Regions from separate parts of the Homo sapiens genome. Here region 2 is linked to region 1. Evidence: promoter capture Hi-C in 16 types of primary human blood cells and fetal thymus (Javierre and others, 2016). All regions are on one chromosome and are shown on one strand. Each heading gives the region's core, a stretch centred on a gene start or on the middle of the fragment in contact. The rest is flanking DNA. Distances are from core to core; before and after follow the strand shown.

Region 1 (3,928 bases), core at 644-3,143:
ACCTGGAATTTGGAAAAATCAAAACTTAAAATATGCATAATTCTCCCTTTTACTCAGCAGTTTCATCACTAGAAATCTATCCTACAGAAATACTCCCATATGTACACACAATGTATGTATGAAGATTTTCATTGCATCATGTTTCTCCCAACTAAGGTGAAAATTTCATGAGTGAGAACTTCGTCATTCACTCTTGTGTCATCAGTAGCTAGATCACTGTCTGGAACATAGTGGGTGCTCAACAGATACTTGTTGGATGAATGAATGGGATTGAAAAATTGGAAACAAGCTAATTTCCTGTCAATAGGAAATGGTTACATCTAGTTTATGAAATACTATGGGCTGTCAAAAGAAATGAGATAGATCTTTATGTACTCACATTGAAAGATCTTCAAGACCAGTGTTACTTTTTTTTTTTTTAATGAGGTTGCTTTCTAACATTACCATTTCATTTTGGATTTCACTTCATACTTTACAATACAGCCTGGAGGAACGCCTCAACTTCTAGTTTCTCTCTCCATTAAGTATCTAATTATGTGTAAATAGAACAACTAACGGGACGCTGGGAAGCCCAGGAGGCAAACATTTTGCAACCGGAACTGTTGAGTGTGCTCGGAGAGGCGAGGGAGGTCTATTTGCTCGTTTCCTCGGATTGCTTAAATGCGGGATTTTGCTATCCCAAAGCACAGAGTGTAAAGTAGCAGCTCCCCCTGCCTGCCTTCCCGGCTTCTTCTGTTTTACAAGCAACGATAATTTCCCGGTGAAAGCGAGGCCTGGGAATCAAATCCAAAAAGTGGTTGTTCCCTTTAGGAGAGGTTAGTAGCTGGAAAGGAGCATGAGAAAACTGGAAGGTCCCATAGACTAATGTGTTTTTTTTCCAAGGTTTGTACAGATTCACCGAGTTGCTGCGCCTTATCATCTAAGTAATGTCTCGGTTTTAGAAGTTGACATTGTTTTGTTAATTACTTCTCTGGTCACATGCATTTCAGGCCGCGCAAAAAGAATCGGAGTGCTGCTTTATATAAATGAATAAAACTAAGTTCCGTGGTTTGGCCCTTCTACACCCTCCTCCCCTACCACAGGCTTTGCAAACCACTTAAGTGTCCTCTGTAACCGTCCGGGGGCACTTTCGGGTCAGAGACAGCGGGCGGAAACCGCAGAAAAAGTTGAAAATGTCAGCGACACCCTGCATCTGCGAGTTCTATTCCGTCCCTGAAGCGGTGAAGCGGGCTGAGCGCGCCGAGGGTGGGCTGCAGCCCGGCGAGGGGCTGGGCTCAGGGCACCTTGCCCAGAAGGCGGGCATCGGTGCCAAGTGTTCACCGGCTACGCAGCAGAGCCACCGAGCAGCGCCCCCCCCCGCCTCCCGCGGGCACGCTCGGTGCCAAGGCCAGCTGCTCCTGAAAGCGGCCCGCGGAGCCCCGAGCCCGGGACTCCCTACTCAGCACCACCCGGCGGGCTCTCGGCTGACCCGCCACGGAAGATGCCCGGTTCCGGGCGATCCGGGCGGCTTCCCTGCGCGCGGGGCCCTGCTGTCCCCGCAGTGCCCACCGGTGCGCCTTAGTCGCCAACCCACCTCATCTCAGGATGAATTTCAGTGTACTTGACGCATCGCGCCAGGACGGTCTCGGGAAAGCGCTTGGTGGTGCCCGGACCGCTCCACTGCTGGCGCCACCTCGGGACGACCACCGCGAGCACCACGACGAGGATCAGGACCAGGATACTGACGCCAAGACAGAGTTGGGCTCTCCTAGAGAGCCGGCAGCAGGGTTTGTCCCCGGACACCGGGCTGAACTCGCAGTTGGCCATAGGGCTCCAGGCGGGGTTGGCTGGGCGAAGATGAGGCCGGCAGGAGGCTAGGCAGCAAGAGAGAGGCTGGCTGGGTTCTGAAACTGCACCTCCCCTTCTGTTTCACTTGCCTTTTCTCTGTTTCCCTTCCCACCCCCAACCCCTTGCCTCAGAGTTCCGTGGCTGGTTACACCAATAAGAGTTTAAAAGACCAACAACTATAGGCTCCTGTGCAGTGACCCACCCACTCCACCTCCAGGGAGAAACAGCCACCTTAATCCTCTGCAGGTGTCCTAAGGGGGCAGACAGTACATCCTTATACTCCCTCCGCTAACTCCCTTCATCAACCGGGCACTTTACACCTGAGCCACATTTGCTTCCTGGAAAGCATGAGGGTGGGCTGCCTGCTTCTATACGTGTGTGCACACAATGCCCTCTGCCTGGAAAAGGATGTCCTACCTCTCTTTCTTAACTCTGACAAATGCCTGGTCAACCACCTTTAAAGACTCAACTTAAGTCTGACTCCTTCTCTCAAGAGGCATCAGTGGCTAAGCTCTGGGTTCAAATTTAGTTCTTGCTGGATGACATGGGGCAAGTTACTTAACCTCTCTGTACTTCAGATGTAAAGCCGGGATAGTAGCAGTACCTACTTCATGGGATTGTTACGAGGATTAAGTGAGTTAATATCTACAACGTGTTTAGCACAATACCTGGCACATGGTAATCACCCAGTAAATGTAAGTTGTTACTACCAGCTCTAGGAGCTGCTCAGAGATGCAATTTTATAGTCCATGGAATGTGTTTGAAGCAGGGTCTGGCACACAGTAATAATACTGCACTCTATGCGGGAGTTTAATAAATAATAAAGTGGCTTTTCTTGCCTCTTCTTTATTAAGAGAACATCTGTGACATTCAAGCAGAGACCTAAGTAATGTGAGCGATCAAGTCACCCAACTCCCTTGGGGCAAACATTTCCCAAGCAGAGGAAATGGCAGGTGCAAAGACTCTGAGGCAGAAAAGCTCTTGGCCTGTTCCAGAGCAGCAAGGAGGCCAATTGTAGTTAGGCTAGAGGGTTGAGGGAAACAGAACAGAAGTTCGGAAAGTAGCAGGAGACCAGATCACCCATAGCTCTGTAAGACAGGATGACTTTTTGGACTGTGTGTTTTATTTATTTTTTATCTTTTTTATTTTGTTTTAAGTTCTGGGATACATGTACAGGACGTGCAGAGTTGTTACATAGGTAAATGTGTGCCATGGTGGTTTGCTGCACCTATCAATCCATTGCTTAGGTATTAAGCCCCTCATGTTTTAGCTATTCTTTCTGATGCTCTCCCTCCCTCCACTCTCCCCAACAGGCCCCAGTGTGTGTTGTTCCCCTCCCTGTGTTCATTGTTCAGCTCCCACTTATAAGTGAGAACATGCAGTGCTTGGTTTTCTGTTCCTGTGTTAGTTTGCTGAGGATAATGGCTTCCAGCTCCATCCATGTCCCTGCAAAGGACATGATCTCGTTCCTTTTTGTGGCTGCACAGTATTCCCTGGTGTATATGTACCACATTGTCTTTATCCAGTCTGTCATTGATGGGCATTTGGGTTGATTCCATGTCATTGCTATTGTGAATAGTGCTACAATGAACATATGCATGCATGTATCTTTATAACAGAATGATTTATATTCCTTTGGGTATATACCCAGTAATGAGATTGCTGGGTCAAATGGTATTTCTGGTTCTAGATCTTTGAGGAATCCCCATACTGTCTTCCACAATGGTTGAACTAATTTACACTCCCATCAACAGTGTAAGTGTTCCTATTTCTCCACAACCTCACCAGCATCTGTTGTTTATTGACTTTTTAATGATCACCATTCTGACTGGCATGAGATGATATTTCATTGTGGTTTTGGTTTGCATTTTTCTAATGATCAATGATGTTGAGCTTTTTTTCATATGTTTGTTGGCTATATAAATGTCTTCTTTTGAGAAATATCTGTTCATGTCCTTTGCCCACTTTTTAATGGGGTTGTTTATTTCTTATAAATTAGTTTAAGTTCCTTGTAGATTCTGGATATTAGACCTTTGTCAGATGGATAGATTTTGAAAATGTTCTCCCATGCTGTAGGTTGTCTGTTCACCCTGATTATAGT
Region 2 (3,928 bases), core at 681-3,180, 2.2 Mb after region 1:
TATTAGTAGAAGTACATTAATCTTTGTGTTGACATTTAAGGAGATGAAGTGTTAAACTGACCTAGAGGCACAAAGGTCCGTCTGAACTTTGGCCCATTATTTGCATAAGAATAATTATAGCTAGTAGTCAGTGAGTATTATTGAAGTGGATTTAGTCAACCTCCACTCATTAATATTAATCGCCTACTTAGTGCCAAACCACAGGGCCAGAAGGAAGGTTTAGATGCTCTTGTCTCTCCGTATCTTTTTTTGAATACATAAACATATACATATGTTATATATGATATGGTTACTGTGCGTTATTGTGTACATTTGAAGCTTCATGTGTAGAATATTGTACAAGTAGCCTAAATTCATGAGGTTTCCATACATAATTCAGCTTTTTAAATTAAAATATAGGAAATCTATATTTCAGTATATTTCAATTTTAAATTGCCTTCATGTATTATGTTTTTGACTGAAAAGGACATTTGACTGTCATTTATTCAGCTCATATTTATTATTGAGTACTGGGCATTAGTGAGTTCTAGTGATTCAGAATTGAAGAATTCATAGACAAATCAGTGCCTGTGATATACTGGAAGGAGTACTAGACTCGGAATGAAATAATCTAAACTCATTCCTAACACACCTACTTGTGGTCTGAGTGTCAAGTTATAGAATCATGCTGAGCTACAATTTCCTGATGTTTTAATGGCATATTTTTAAGTATTTAACTTTATTTTGTGATAAATCTCTATGAGAAATAATCTCATAAAATTGTTCATATTGTTTAGAATTAGTTTTTTTATTGTAAAATATGGTTGTTGCAAACTCCTGTTAGTTCTTTGAAGAATTTAGCTTCTTAAAATCAAGTTAATAATACTTATTTTTTAAAATCAGGTGAGTTTTTGACACCTACACAGGCTGTTTGTAAGAATTAAGTGAGATGTTACATATGTGACAGCACTCAACATATTAAATCCACCCAAATGTTATGTTTTAATCTAAAAATTGATTTTGGTATTTCTCATATTTTAACCTTTGTTTTCTTTCAGCATTGTGAAAAGGAAAAAATTTCTTCTTCAAAGGAGCTGAAGCATGTTCATGCAAAAAGTGAACCAAGTAAACCTGCCCGGAGACTTTCAGAGTCTTTGCATGTAGTTGACGAAAACAAAAATGAATCCAAATTAGAAAGAGAACATAAAAGACGGACATCTACCCCTGTTATCATGGAGGGGGTACAGGAAGAGACTGACACAAGAGATGTAAAAAGGCAAGTAGAACGCTCAGAAATTTGCACCGAAGAGCCCCAGAAACAGAAAAGCACACTTAAAAACGAAAAGCATCTAAAGAAAGATGATTCTGAAACACCACATTTGAAAAGCCTACTTAAGAAAGAGGTGAAATCCTCCAAGGAGAAGCCTGAAAGAGAGAAAACTCCATCGGAAGACAAATTGTCTGTGAAACATAAATATAAAGGTGATTGTATGCATAAAACAGGTGATGAGACTGAGCTTCACTCTTCTGAGAAAGGTTTAAAAGTAGAGGAAAATATTCAAAAGCAAAGTCAACAAACAAAGCTTTCTTCAGATGATAAAACCGAACGAAAAAGTAAACATAGGAATGAAAGGAAATTATCAGTATTAGGCAAAGATGGAAAGCCAGTTTCTGAATATATTATAAAAACAGATGAGAATGTTCGTAAAGAAAACAACAAAAAAGAGAGACGCTTGTCAGCTGAAAAAACTAAGGCAGAGCACAAATCAAGAAGGTCAAGTGATTCTAAAATTCAGAAAGATTCTCTGGGTTCCAAGCAACATGGTATCACATTACAGAGAAGAAGTGAAAGTTATTCGGAAGATAAGTGTGATATGGACTCCACTAACATGGATAGTAATTTGAAACCAGAAGAGGTTGTTCACAAGGAGAAACGACGAACAAAGAGCTTGTTAGAAGAGAAACTTGTGTTGAAGTCTAAATCAAAAACTCAAGGCAAACAGGTAAAAGTTGTAGAAACAGAATTACAAGAAGGTGCCACAAAACAGGCAACCACTCCAAAACCAGACAAGGAGAAGAACACAGAAGAAAATGACTCAGAAAAACAGCGTAAGTCTAAAGTTGAAGACAAACCTTTTGAAGAAACTGGTGTTGAACCTGTATTAGAGACTGCTTCTTCTTCAGCACATAGTACACAGAAGGATTCTAGTCATAGAGCCAAGTTACCATTAGCAAAGGAGAAATATAAGAGTGATAAAGACTCCACTTCCACCAGGCTTGAGAGAAAGTTGTCAGATGGCCACAAAAGCAGAAGCTTAAAGCATAGTAGTAAAGACATAAAAAAGAAGGACGAAAATAAATCAGATGACAAGGATGGTAAAGAAGTTGACAGTAGTCATGAAAAGGCCAGAGGTAATAGTTCACTCATGGAAAAGAAATTAAGTAGAAGGTTGTGCGAAAATCGGAGAGGAAGCTTGTCACAAGAAATGGCCAAAGGAGAAGAAAAATTAGCAGCAAACACTTTGAGCACTCCCAGCGGTTCCTCCCTTCAGAGACCAAAAAAGAGTGGTGATATGACATTGATCCCTGAACAAGAGCCAATGGAAATTGATTCTGAGCCAGGTGTTGAAAATGTGTTTGAAGTATCTAAAACCCAAGACAACCGCAATAATAATTCTCAGCAAGACATTGACTCTGAAAATATGAAACAAAAAACTTCTGCCACTGTTCAAAAGGATGAATTGAGAACTTGCACAGCAGATTCAAAAGCAACAGCTCCAGCTTATAAGCCAGGCCGTGGAACAGGAGTTAATAGTAATTCTGAAAAGCATGCCGATCATAGAAGCACCTTGACCAAGAAAATGCATATACAAAGTGCTGTGTCCAAAATGAACCCTGGGGAGAAAGAACCCATTCATAGAGGAACTACTGAAGTGAATATAGATTCTGAAACTGTTCATAGAATGTTACTGAGTGCCCCATCAGAAAATGATAGGGTACAGAAGAATTTGAAAAACACAGCTGCTGAAGAACATGTTGCTCAAGGAGATGCCACTCTTGAACATTCCACAAATTTAGACTCCTCACCATCCTTAAGTTCAGTGACTGTTGTGCCTCTGAGGGAATCGTATGATCCAGATGTAATTCCTCTGTTTGACAAAAGAACTGTTTTGGAAGGTAGCACAGCCAGCACCTCCCCTGCGGATCACTCTGCTCTCCCTAACCAAAGTCTGACTGTTAGGGAATCAGAAGTCCTTAAGACAAGTGACAGCAAAGAAGGTGGTGAAGGTTTCACAGTAGATACACCAGCAAAAGCAAGCATCACTAGCAAAAGACACATTCCAGAAGCTCACCAGGCTACTTTATTGGATGGTAAACAAGGAAAGGTAATCATGCCTCTTGGAAGTAAGTTAACGGGCGTGATTGTGGAAAATGAGAATATTACCAAAGAAGGTGGCTTAGTGGACATGGCCAAGAAAGAAAATGACTTAAATGCAGAGCCCAATTTAAAGCAGACAATTAAAGCAACAGTAGAGAATGGCAAGAAGGATGGCATTGCTGTTGATCATGTTGTAGGCCTGAATACAGAAAAATATGCTGAAACTGTCAAACTTAAGCATAAAAGAAGCCCAGGTAAAGTAAAAGACATATCAATTGATGTTGAAAGAAGGAATGAAAACAGTGAGGTAGACACCAGTGCTGGAAGTGGCTCTGCACCCTCTGTTTTACACCAAAGGAACGGACAAACTGAGGATGTGGCAACTGGGCCTAGGAGAGCAGAAAAGACTTCTGTTGCCACTAGTACTGAAGGGAAGGACAAAGATGTCACCTTAAGTCCAGTGAAGGCTGGGCCTGCCACAACCACTTCTTCAGAAACAAGACAAAGTGAGGTGGCTTTGCCTTGCACCAGCATTGAGGCAGATGAAGGCCTCATAATAGGAACACATTC

Evidence for each region. The method cuts DNA at HindIII sites, captures the fragments that hold promoters and counts their contacts. A CHiCAGO score of 5 or more calls a contact.
Region 2: a fragment that was not itself captured here is called in contact with the fragment with the promoter of CD38 in region 1 in 1 of 17 cell types (monocytes); the score reaches 5.7 in monocytes.

The regions. Positions count from the first base shown.
Region 1 is chr4:15,776,293-15,780,220 of GRCh38, reverse strand. It overlaps CD38 (CD38 molecule), which reads right to left and starts at 1,893. Exons shown (of 8, transcript NM_001775.4): 1 at 1,574-1,893. The coding sequence starts at 1,806. RefSeq lists silencers at 1,135-1,184, 1,375-1,424 and enhancers at 1,555-2,054, 1,466-2,108. The HindIII fragment of the contact is 6,782 bases long and covers 1-3,928 here.
Region 2 is chr4:13,602,194-13,606,121 of GRCh38, reverse strand. It overlaps BOD1L1 (biorientation of chromosomes in cell division 1 like 1), which reads left to right. Exons shown (of 26, transcript NM_148894.3): 10 at 1,038-3,928. Among named protein-coding and RNA genes, the nearest start is that of BOD1L1, 24 kb to the left of the region's middle. The HindIII fragment of the contact is 731 bases long and covers 1,565-2,295 here.